Linked DNA regions of Homo sapiens: all the other regions are linked to region 1. The links are contacts of gene promoters, found by promoter capture Hi-C in blood cells and fetal thymus (Javierre and others, 2016). All regions are on one chromosome and are shown on one strand. The core of a region is centred on a gene start or on the middle of the fragment in contact, and the rest is flanking DNA. Distances in the headings are between cores, read along the strand shown.

What was found. Contacts are between HindIII fragments. The CHiCAGO score rates a contact against its expected background, and 5 or more counts as called.
Region 2: a fragment that was not itself captured here is called in contact with the fragment with the promoter of ACBD3-AS1 in region 1 in 1 of 17 cell types (megakaryocytes); the score reaches 5.5 in megakaryocytes.
Region 3: a fragment that was not itself captured here is called in contact with the fragment with the promoter of ACBD3-AS1 in region 1 in 1 of 17 cell types (total B cells); the score reaches 5.7 in total B cells.

Annotation. Positions count from the first base shown.
Region 1 is chr1:226,145,609-226,149,870 of GRCh38, reverse strand. ACBD3-AS1 (ACBD3 antisense RNA 1) reads right to left here and starts at 1,868. Exons shown (of 2, transcript NR_146443.1): 1 at 1,803-1,868. ACBD3 (acyl-CoA binding domain containing 3) reads left to right here. Exons shown (of 8, transcript NM_022735.4): 8 at 3,050-4,262. The coding sequence ends at 3,261. It also overlaps the pseudogene LOC124904586. The HindIII fragment of the contact is 12,330 bases long and covers 968-4,262 here.
Region 2 is chr1:226,338,308-226,342,569 of GRCh38, reverse strand. No RefSeq gene overlaps it. Among named protein-coding and RNA genes, the nearest start is that of LIN9, 31 kb to the right of the region's middle. The HindIII fragment of the contact is 5,339 bases long and covers 1-4,262 here.
Region 3 is chr1:226,310,316-226,314,577 of GRCh38, reverse strand. No RefSeq gene overlaps it. Among named protein-coding and RNA genes, the nearest start is that of LIN9, 3.3 kb to the right of the region's middle. The HindIII fragment of the contact is 2,637 bases long and covers 789-3,425 here.

The DNA.
Region 1 (4,262 bases), core at 619-3,118:
AATTACTGTACTTACAAAGAGCTTTGTGAGGCCAGGCACGGTGGCCCCTGCCTGTAATCTCAGCACTTTGGGAGGCCAAAGCGGATGGATTGCTAGAGCTCAGGAGTTCAAGACCAGCCTGGGCAACATGATGAAACCCTGTCTCTACCAAAAATACAAAAAACTAGCTGGGTGTGATGGTGTGCACCTGTAGTCCCAGCTACTTGGGAGGCTGAGGTGGGAAAATTGCTTGAGCCCAGGAGGTAGAGGTTGCAGTGAGCTGAGATCAAGTCACTTCACTCCAGCCTGGGCCACAGAGCCAGACCCCATCTCAAAAAAAAAAAAAAAAAAAAAAAAAAAAAGATGGCTGGGCGCAGTGGCTGACACCTGTAATCCCAGCACTTTGGGAGCCTGAGGTGGGTGAATCACCTGAGGTCAGGAGTTCAAGACCAGCCTGGCCAACATGGTGAAACCCCATCTCTACTAAAAGTACAAAAATTAGCCAGGCATGGTGGCACATGCCTGTAATCCCAGCTACTTGGGAGACTGAGGCAGGAGAATCGCTTGAACCCGGGAGGTGGAGATTGCAGTGAGCTGAGATCGTGCCATTGCACTCCAGCCTGGGCGACAGAGCCAGACTCCGTCTCAAAAAAAAAAAAAAATGAAAGAGCTTTGTGAATAAGAATTCTCTGTTCAGAAGTTGGTTGAGGTAATGTATTTCTCCTGGCTTGCCTATTAGAGAGCTTCTAAAAGGTGGTTACTGCCTAGTCTGAACCCTCAGCTGATGATAGTTTTGGGGTTATATTGGTGTTGGGAAGATCACTAGTGAAAATGGCAGGGGTTCATTTCTAGAGGTAAGAACCTTAATATCCTTGATCTTAGTTCTAATATGTCCCTCAAATGAAAGATGGCATTCCCTGTACTTGTACCATTCCTAATCATAAAATGATTTGCAGCTAAAACATTTTAGCCTCACAGCAGTGAAGCTTTATCATTCCTAAGAATTGTTCATTACATGAGCGTCACTTCATCCCATTTAAAGATTTAGCTCACAAATTGTATTTGTCCATATGCCTTAGAAGCTACTGTCCTACCGTGTCTTGTATTTCATATGGTAGAAGAGTCTGAGTTTTTTGGGTTTTGGTTTGGTTTTTCTTCCTTAGGTCTTGAAAGGTAGACAGAGGAGTTTGCTTTCTCTGAAGAAGCATGGATGGTAACACATCCTCCTGTTTTAATTCTCCATTTTCTTCATTGTTTACAGGTCCTAAACCTTGGCTTAAATTCATAAAAGATGCCTTTTCATCTATCCCAGTAATCTTTAGTTTTATAGATTTAAAACAAAATTTGAGTCTTGAATCAATGGACCAGTCTATTTCTTGGATGTCAACAATAGTGTACATTTTGGATGGTTCTGTATTTCTCATTTGCATGTGAAACATGCTTAATTATAGGTATTTCTGTGGTTAAGTAAATCTGGTTTTGACCTACCTTTATAAGAGTGCCATCTGCTTTTTTAAAATAAACTTTTAATTTTAGAATAGTTTTAGATTTACAGAAAAGTTACAAAGATAGCACAAAGAGTACCCATATACCCTGCACCAAGTTCCCTCTGTTGTTAGCATCTTACATTGTACTGTGGTGCACTCATCACAGCTAATGAAACAATATTGATACATTGATTCATTAATTAACTAAAGTCCATATTTATTCAGATGTTTTTAGTTTTTACCTAATGTTCCAAGATCCTTTCCAGGATGCCACATTATAGTCAGTCATCATATCTCCTTAATCTGCTATAGACGGTGAGAATTTCTCAAACTTACCTTGTTTTAAATTCCTGATAGTGGCCATTGACAAGCATCACTCAGTGTGTTGCCAGAATTCACTCTGCCATGTTATAAACCTGAAAATCCATGCCTGTAGTCCCAGTCTCTTAAACAAACAAACAAACAAAAACAACAACCATAAACCCGAAAGTCTTGTCTTCTGTGCTGAATACTCCCTTGACCTCTTTGAGCTGGTTTGTATTAAATATGTTAAACTGTGACTTCGAAGCTGGTTCATAATTTTCTCATTCCTGTAGGTTTCTAGAGGCATTTTTTTTCCTAACCTCATAGCATTACAGTTCAAAAAACTCTTAACCGGGGCAAACCTTTCAGAGCCCATTTTTTGCCACTTAGATCATCTCTGGGTTAAATTGGCCTAGTGAAAATAATTGAATTTTCAGAGTATCTCTGAATGCCTATCTCTCTACTATGATTTTTTCATTTTACTGCTTATATTTAAGATATACAGAAAGCAATAGTCCTCACAAATCATCTTCCATCTTTCTAAAATGGGGAGGACTCATATTGGTCAGAAGGAGGATGATGAGAGCAACATTTTCATGTTACTCAGATGAGTGAAATTCCTGAGGATGAATTAGGAATTGAATGGCTATGGAAAGGGGAAAATGGGACCTTGAAATAGGAATGGTAGTAAGCACAGAAAGAGATAGGATGCTGACCACTGCTACCACTAGATGTTCATCACTGGGCTCCCAGGGCTCAGAACAGGGTTTGGTGTATAGCACATACTTAGGTATTTGAATGAATGAGTGAATGAATGAATGAATGAACGAACTAATAAATGCTCACATGCACATAACTTGTTAAATGGTTCAACAGAATTCCCAACAAGAGCAGTTTCTCAAAGAAAGGATAGGCTGGGCACGGTGGCTCACGCCTGTAATCCCAGCACTTTGGGAGGCCGAGGCAGGTGGGTCACAAGGTCAGGAGATTGAGACAATCCTGGCCAACATGGTGAAAGTCCATGTCTACTAAAAATACAAAAATTACCTGGATGTAGTGGTGCACGCCTGTAATCCCAGCTACTTGGGAAGCTGAGGCAGGAGAATCGCTTGCACCCAGGAGGTGGAGGTTGCAATGAGCTGAGATCACGCCGCTGCACTCCATCCTGGGTGACAGAGCAAGACTCTGTCTCCAGAAAAAAAAGAAAGGATAGATTTTAATTGCCTGATGCAAGTGTGGTTTTCCTGAATCTGTTCATTGACTTGTCTCTGTTCTTACAGAAAACATCGGTTGTGAAGAGAAAGCCAAAAAGAATGCCAACAAGCCTTTGCTGGATGAGATTGTGCCTGTGTACCGACGGGACTGTCATGAGGAGGTGTATGCTGGCAGCCATCAATATCCAGGGAGAGGAGTCTATCTCCTCAAGTTTGACAACTCCTACTCTTTGTGGCGGTCAAAATCAGTCTACTACAGAGTCTATTATACTAGATAAAAATGTTGTTACAAAGTCTGGAGTCTAGGGTTGGGCAGAAGATGACATTTAATTTGGAAATTTCTTTTTACTTTTGTGGAGCATTAGAGTCACAGTTTACCTTATTGATATTGGTCTGATGGTTTGTGAACTCTTGCTGGGAATCAAAATTTCCTTGAGACTCTTTAGCATTCATACTTTGGGGTTAAAGGAGATTCCTCAGACTCATCCAGCCCTTGGGTGCTGACCAGCAGAGTCACTAGTGGATGCTGAAGTTACATGAGCTACATGTTAAATATTTAAAGTCTCCAAAATAAAACACCCCAACGTTGACCTTACCCGGCTGATGGTTAGCCCCTTGCTGCCTGCTCCATGTGTCTTATGAGAGCCCGTAGTTACAGTGTCCTCTAATTTGAAATCCATAAGTTAACAAGTCTATATCAGGTGCAGCTGGCTTTGATTAAAGGCCATTTTTAAAACTTAAAAACTCAACACCTCACAGATTATAATAGAAAAAGAAATGGCCTCAGTTTGATCTCGTTCAGAATGACCCAGATTGTTTCTGCTTTGGGTGCAGCTGTTTAGTTCAGAGTTATATTACAGAGAATTATTTTCTGAGATAATCTTAAACTAGAATGTTCAAAACTAATTGATAATTGAAGTATCAAGATACGTAGAACACCTCAGAGATTTTTCTTCAGGAACTTCCACAAACTTTGAATCCTTGTATCTTTATTTGGTATTCATACTACTAGTAGCAAAATACAGGTTTTTTGTTTTGTTTTGTTTTGTTTTGGCTTCATAGAGTATCTCAAATTGAAACTTTTCTGCACAAAGAATAAAATTAAGGATTTTATAAACTCAAATTGGCACCTACTGAATTAAAATACATAAAATCATTTAAATATAATTCAGCATATGGGAAGTAACATTGCACTAATATGGAAATCACTGCCAGAGACAGTCTATTTTCTTTTAATTTGTTACTACTTAGTCACAAACCCCACATTATTCCAGTTTGG
Region 2 (4,262 bases), core at 1,144-3,643, 190 kb before region 1:
TAGCTCTGTCGCCCAGGCTGGAGTGCAGTGGTGTGATCTCGGCTCACTACAAGCTCCATCTCCTGGGTTGACACCATTCTTCTGCCTCAGCCTCTAGAGCAGCTGGGACTACAGGCATCTGCCACCACGCCTGGCTAATTTTTTTGTACTTTTATTAGAGATGGGGTTTCACTGTGTTAGCCAGGATGGTCTCAATCTCCTGACCTCGTGATCCACCCACCTCGGCCTCCCAAAGTGCTGGGATTACAGGCGTGAGCCACCACGCCCGGCCACAGTCCTCCAAAATCTTAACTCATTACAGCATCAACTCAAAAGTCCACACTCCAAAGTCTCATCCAAGACAAGGCAAGTCCCTTCCACCTATGAGCCTGTAAATCAAAAGCAAGTTAGTTCCTTCCTAGATGCAATGAGGGTACAGGGATTGGGTAAATACAGCCATTCCAAATGGGAGAAATTGGCCAAAACAAAGGAGCTGCAGGCCCCATGCAAGTCCAAAATCCACTGGGACAGTCAAATCTTTTTTTTTTTTTTTTTGAGATGAAGTCTTGCACTGTCGCCCAGGCTGGAGTGAATGGCATGATCTTGGCTCACTGCAACATCCACCTTCCGGGTTCAAGCAATTCTTCTGCCTCAGCCTCCCGAGTAGCTGGGATTACAGGTGCCCGACACCCCGCCTGGCTAATTTTTGTATTTTTAGTAGAGACAGGGATTCAGTATGTTGGGCAGGCTGGTCTCAAACTCCTGACCTCATGATCTGCCCACCTCGGCCTCCCAAAGTGCTGGGATTACAGGCATGAGCCACCGCACCCAGCGCAGTCAAATCTTAAGGCTCTAAAATGATCTCTTTGACTCCAGGTCTCACATCCAGGTCACACTGATGCAGGAGGTAAGTCCCCTTGGTCTTGGGCAGCTCTGCCCCTGTGGCTTTGCAGGGTATAGCCCCCCTCCTGGCTGCTTTCATGTGCTGTTGACCATCTGCGGCTTGTCCAAGCACATGGTGCAAGCTGTAGATACACCATTCTGGGGTCTAAAGAATGGTGGCCCTCTTCTAACAGCTCCACTAGGTAGTGCCCCAGTAGGGACTCTGTGTGGGGGCTCCGACCCCACATTTCCCTTTCACACTGCCCTAGCAGAGGTTCTCCATGAGCACCCTGCCCCTGCAGCAAACTTCTGCCTGGACATCCAGGTGTTTCCATACATCCTCTGAAATCTAGGTGGAGGTTCCCAAACCTCAGTTCTTGACTTATATGCACCCACTGGCTCAACACCACATGGAAACTGCCAAGGCTTGGGGCTTCCACCCTCTGAAGCAACAGCCCAAGCTGTACCTTGGCCCCTTTTAGCCATGGCTAGAGTGGCTGGAATGCAGGGCACCAAGTCCCTAGGCTGCACACAGCATGGGGACCTTGGGCCCAACCCACGAAACCATTTTTTCCTCATAGGTCTCTGGGCCTGTGATGGGAGGGGCTGCTGTGAAGACCTCTGACATGCCCTGGGGCCATTTTCCCCATTGTCTTGCAGGTTAACATTCGGCCCCCCATTACTTTTGCAAATTTTTATAGCCAACTTGAATTTCTCCTCAGAAAATGGGATTTTCTTTTCTATCACATTGTCAGGCTGCAAATTTTCTGAACTTTTATGCTCTGCTTCCCTTATAAAACTGAATGCCTTTAACAGCACCCAAGTCACCTCTTGAATGTTTTGCTGCTTAGAAATTTTTTCCACCAGCTACCCTAAATCATCTCTCTCAAGTTCAAACTTCCACAAATCTCTAGGGCAGGGGCAAAATGCTGCCAGCCTCTTTGCTAAAACATAACAAGAGTCACCTTTGTTCCAGTCCCCAGCAAGTTCTTCATCTTTATCTGAGACCACCTCAGCCTAGATTTCATTGTCCATATCATTATCGGTATTTTGGTCAAAGTCATTCAACAAGTCTAAACTAAAGGGAGTTCTAAACTTTCCTACATTTTCCTGTCTTCTGAGCTCTCCAGCTGTTCCAACCTCTGCCTGTTGCCCATTTCCAAAGTCACTTCCACATTTTCAGATATCTTTCCAGCAGCACCCCCACTCTACAGGTACCAATTTACTGTATTAGTCCATGTTCATGCTGCTGATAAAGACATACTCAAGACTGGACAATTTACAAAAGAAAGAGGTTTAATTGGACTTACAGTTCTATGTGTCTGGGGAAGCCTCACAATCATGGTGGAAGGCAAGGAGGAGCAAGTCACGTCTTACATGGATGGCAGTAAGCAAAGAGAGAGCTTGTGCAGAGAAACTCCCATTTTTTAAACCATCAGATCTTGTGAGACTTATTCACTATTACGAGAACAGCACAGGAAAGACCTGCCCCGATGATTCAATTACCTCCCACCAAGTTCCTCCCACAACATGTGGGAATTCAAGATGAGATTTGGGTAGGGACACAGCCAAACCAAATCACCAATGAAAATGGATGATGAGGGCATGGACACTCAGGCATCAGTGGTTTTTAAAGCTACCCAGGTGATTCCACATACCCCCGGCACTTGGTTGCTAACTTGACCCCTCTGGTCTAAATCAATCATGGTTGTCCCATCGCCCTTACTAGTGCATTAGTTAAAAAAGTGCATGTGGCCAGGTGTGGTGGCTCATCATGCCTGTAATCCCAGCAGTTTGGAAGGCTGTGGCAGGAGAATTACTTGAGCCCAGGCATTCAAAACCAGCCTGAGCAATCTAGTGAGACCTTGTCTCTACAAAAAAAATAAATAAATAAAATATTAGCCAAGCATGGTGGCATGTGCCTGTGACCCCAGCTACTTGGGAGGCTGAGATGGGAGGATTGCTTGAGCCCAGGAGGTCTAGGCTCCAGTGAGCTGAGATGGTACAATAAGGGCATGCTGATGTCGGGATTCCTAGGTGTGTCATTACCATCAGTGCCGTGAGAAGAGCTTTCCCGAGGACAAGCTGATGTGCTGGGGGAAGGGAGAGTAAGGAGAGAGTACACCTAGGTCCCTGGTAGCCTTCCCAAACTGCACATCCACCAACCTGAAGACGTCCTCCTCCAGGATTCTCATTACCTGAAACCAAATCCATTCAAGTGAGGGGATTCTGTTATTTACAACACAAGGTATAACTGATACAGTGAAGAATTCTCAATACATAAAGGACTTTAGAAAGATTTCCCAGCTGGGTGCAGTGATTCATGCCTGTATGATTGCATGAACCCAGAAGTTCAAGACCAGCCTAGGCAACATGGCAAGACCCCATCTCTACAAAAAATTAAAAATTAGCCAGGCATAGTTTCATGCACCTGTGATCCCAGCACTTAGGGAGGCTGAGGCAGTGGATCACTTGAGCCCAGGAGTTCAAGACCAGCCAGGGCAACATGATGAAACCCCATCTCTACAAAAAATAGTCAGTGTGGTGGCAGTTACCTGTAGTCCCAGCTACTTGGAATGCTGAAGAGGGAGGATCACTTGAGCCCAGGAGGTTGAGGCTGCAGTGAGCCATGATTGCGTCACTGCACTCCAGCCTGGGTGACAGAACAAGAACCTGTCTCAAAAAAAAAAACAAAAACAAACAAACAAACAAAAGCCAGGCGTGGTGGTGTGAGCACTCTTGGAGGCTGAGGCAGGTGGATCACTTGAGGTCAGGAGTTCAAGACCAGCCTGGCCAACATGGTGAAAGCCCGTCTCTACTAAAAATACAAAATTTAGCCAGACATGGTGGCATGCACCTGTAATCCCAGCTATTCAAGAGGCTGAGGCACAAGAATCACTTGAGCCTGGGAGGCAGAGGTTGCAGTGAGCCTAGATCATGCCACTGCACTCCAGCCTGGGTGACAGAGCAAGACTCTGTCTCAAAAAAAAAAAAAAGGGCCAAGCACGGTGGCTCACACCTGTAATCCCAGCACTTTGGGAGGCCAAGGTGGGCGGATCATGAGGTCAGGAGATCAAGACCATCCTGGCCAACATGGTGAAACCCATCTCTACTAAAAATACAAAAATTAGCTGGGCGTGGTGGGGCGTGCCTGTAATCCCAGCTACTCGGGAGGCTGAGGCAGGACAATTGCTTGAACCCGGGAGACGGAGGTTGCAGTGAGCCGAGATCACACCACTGCACTCCAGCCTGGGTGACAGAGCAAGACTCTGTCTCAGAAGAAAAAAAAAAAAATCCCTACTGGAGGGAGGCCTCAGTGAGTGTGTATGTGTGTCAGTTTTCTCCCTAAAGGAACAGGAACGGGAATGTATGAGGAGCAAACGAAGCAAAACATGAGGGGA
Region 3 (4,262 bases), core at 858-3,357, 160 kb before region 1:
AGGTTGCGTCCAACTCTTGGCTATTGTGAAGTAATACTGCTAAGAACATGGGTGTACAAATATTTGTTTGAGTCCTTGCTTTTCATTATTTTGGGTATTTATATTCAGAGTAGAATTGCTGGATCATATAGCATAGTACTTTTATGTATAAATCTTTGAAGAACCACCATATTGTTTTCCATAGCAGCTGCACCATTTTACATTCCCAATAGCAGTACACAGTGTTCTGATTTCTTCACATCCTTGCCAACACTTGTTATTATCTGTCTTTTTTATCATAGCTATCCCAGTGGGTGTGAATTGGTATCTCATTGTGGTTTTGATTTGTAGCTCCCCAATGATAATGATCTTGAACAGTCTTTTGTGTGCTTATTGACTTATCTACTGTGGAGAAATGTCTATTCAGATCCTTCACACATTTTTGAATTGGGTTGTCTTTTTATTACCAAGTTATAAGAGTTTTAAATGTGTTTAAATGTTTTGGATACAAGTGCTTTATCAGATATAAGATTTGCAAATATTTTCTCCCATTCTAAGGGTTGTCTTTTCACTTTCTTGATAGTGCCCTTTGAAACACACAAATTTTTAATTTTGATGAGGTCCAATTTATACTTTCTTTGGTTGATTGTGCTTTTGTGTCATAGCTGAGAAACTGTTGCTTAATCTAAGGTCATGAAGATTTACACCTATGTTTTCTTTTAGGAATTTTTATGGTTTAGCTTTTACATTTAGGTCTTTGGTTCATTATGAGTTTCACATTTGTATTGTATATGATTTTTTAAAAAGCTTTGTTATAGTTTTCATTAGAGTAGTGTAACATACTAAACTCCACTAAACTTGGATGTTATACATAATATCTAGCACATGTAGAGAATTTTATCTTTTATTATCTCAATTTTATGGACATGCATCCTCACATTGTGATCTAGGTAGGGCAGTGTAGTTATATTCACTCCCCAAATGGGAAAGACGAAGGCAGAAAGGTTCAATGACTTGTCCGAGATCATGGTGCTCACTAGAGGTAAAGCAAGGCTTAGAACCCATGTCTTCTGCTCTCACTCCTCACGCCTGTTTCCACTGCTCTGAACATGTTCAGGGAGATGATTCTGAAGGGAATTACCAGGATGGCCACTGGGCACATTTTTGAGAATATTTATGTTGTAAAAGAGGGATTCTCATCAAGGAAGGATACCAACAGTCACTGGAGATCTTGGTAGGCACTTAATTTACAATATGTAATTTAATCTTCATGATAACCCTTCAAGAAAGGGAGAAGAAAACTAAAAACTACTACTGAGAGTAATTTGTTCAAGAATACACACAAGGGAAGTAGGTGAACTGCAATTTGAACCTAGATCCTGGGGCCATCAGTACTCCTGGTGTACTTGGATGCTGGAAGAGGAAATGCTGAGTGTGGAGTCCTACCAGCAACATAACTTAAAAATATATATATTTATAGGCTGGAGAGCCTTTTTACCTCATTATGGCTGAGATACTCAAGCAAGGCAAACTGAATTGTCTTTGTTTTTTCATTACTAACTCAAATTCCCAACTTTATCAAAAGTATTTATAAAAACATTCACACACATACTATACACACACACGCTTTTTTTTTTTTTTTTTTTTTTTTTGAGACGGAGTCTCACCCTGTCACCCAGGCTGGAGTGCAGTGGTGTGATCTCAGCTCACTGCAGTCTTCACCTCCTAGGTTCAAGCAATTCTCCTGCCTCAGCCTTCCAAGTAGCTTGAATTACAGGCACAAGCCACCACGCCTGGCTAGTTTTGTATTTTTAGTAGAGACTGGGTTTCACCATGTTGGTCAGGCTGGTCTCAAACCCCTGATCTCAGGTGCTCAGGCGATCCACCTGCCTCAGCCTCCCAAAGTGCTGGGATTACAGGTGTGAGCCACTGCACCAGGCCCCCAACACACACATTTTATCTTTAGTCATTGCAACTGTTTTCACAAAAATAATCCAACCCAATAATTGATAAATAGGCCACAGGACTAGAAATGGTCAAACCTGGTATTTCTAAAACGTGGCCATGTTTATTTTTCTTATGGTATTTTTAAAATTTTTTAGAATTTTTGTGGGTACATAGTAGGTGGATATATTTATGATGGTACATGAGATGTTTCTTATGGTGTATTTTTATTTAGGTTTTTCATGACTTAATGACCTTATCCACACCGTGGTTTGTTTTTTTTAAAAAGCAAACACCACACACAGTCATGTCATTTTAAATTGGAATAAGTGATTGCAGGAAACTTAATACCCCTGTGTTGCATGTTGCTATGGTTTGAATGATGGTATTCCCTCCAAAATTCAGTTGTAACATAATCCCCAATGCAACAGTATTAAGTGGTGTGGCCTCTGGGAGGTGATTAAGTCATGAGGGTTCTGCTCTCGTGAATGGGGTTAGCACCCTTATGAAAGGGCTCAAGACTGAAGGAGGTGTTCTCTTGCCTTTCTGTCCCTTCTACCATGTGAGGACACAGCATGCATCCCCTCCAGAGGATGGAGCAACGAGCCACCATCTTGGAAACAGAGAGCTGCCCTCACCAGACACCAACATTGGCACCTTGATCTTGGACTTCCCAGCGTTTGAAACTGTGAGAAATAAATTCTTGTTGTCGGCTGGGCACGGTGGCTCATGCCTGTAATCCCAGCACTTTGGGAGGCTGAGGCAGGTAGATCACTTGAGATCAGGAGTTCAAGACCAGCCTGGCCAAACTGGTGAAACCCTGTCTCTACTAAGAACACAAAAATTAGCCAGGAGTGGTGGCAGGCACCTGTAATCCCAGCTACTCTGGAGGCAGAGGCAGGAGAATCGCTTGAACCCAGGAGGCAGAGGTTGCAGTGAGCCGAGATCACACCATTGTACTCCAGCGTGGGTGACAAGAGCAAAACTCCATCTCAAAAAAAAAAAAAAAAATTCTTGTTGTCTATAAATTACCCAGTCTCAGATGTTTTGTTATAGCAGCACAAATGGACAAAGACATACGTGTAATCCTCCCATCACAGAGGGAGTCACTGAGGCACCGAAAAGTGGGCTAGATTCCTGATTCTAGCACTTGCTTGCCATTGTCTTTGGACAAATTACCAGGTTGTTGGGAGAATCAAGTAAGCCAATCATTGTAAAACCTGTCATAAATATTCAATAACGAAACTTATTGAAGAGTTAGGTGTGCCTTGGCTTCGATCACACAGCTAAGCGCTAGATCTGGGGCTAGGATACAGCTTCAGGCTTTGGATTTATGAGAAGAGTCAAAGTTTTTGTTTAAAATGCAGATTATCAGGCAAGGGCCTAAAAACATTGATTTAAACAGTAGTTGTGTTGTTGCGTGTACATGAAAACTGCCTCAGAATAAAACCAGGTTTGCCTTGGTCTAATGACACCTTGACTATCATGACATTCACAAAGCTTTTGCTTCTCCCACTCTGGTAACCTCTCATGTTTTTTTAATTTCTATTCTTCCATTCTTAAAGGGCTGACCTTTTCTTGATCTCATCTCCAAATTGATACTGAAGTGCAAGCTGCTGAAGCACCCCCTAGGTGCTGACAACAAGGACCAGTGTTTTAATCTTCTTAGGGAGCAGATCAGAGTGTGTTTAGAAGGCAAAGGAGAGGTTAAGCTAGCTCTGAAGGAAGGATTACTTTGTAAAATTGAACTTTCACCCTCCCTGCTCACTCCCTGCTCTCCCTCCTACCTTAGCATGGCAGCACCCAGTTACCCAAGGCACAGAGCTGGCATCAGCAATGAGACTTCCTTCTCCTCACACCCAGTGACTCACCCAATCCTTTATTTTCCACGTCTTGAAAGGTGGAGTGCATGCTGCCACCTCTCTCTAATACTGCCTATGCTGTGGTAATGGTGGTAATAGTGGCTAGCTGATGGGTGCTAGCAGCTAGTATAAGGTCCTTACATCTATCAAATCGTTTAGCCCTCAAAATAACCCTGTTATTTGCATTTTACAGATAAGAAACTGAGGCACAGAGAATTCGGTTAAGAAACCAACGTGCCTGAGATTATACAACTAGCAGCCCATCTGGATTCTTCCCATCGAGGCCCTGGGGCTCCAGAGCCCACCCGCTGCACCTCTCTAGCTACCAGTGCAGGCATCTCTCTTCTGTCCTTTGCATGCCCCAAATAAGCTTCTTCCTGACTGGTTTCTAGGCTCTCATCTTGTCCCCCACCAATCCATTTCCCATATTTTTGTTCTAAAACACAAATAGAAACGTGCCCCTCTTACACCCGACTT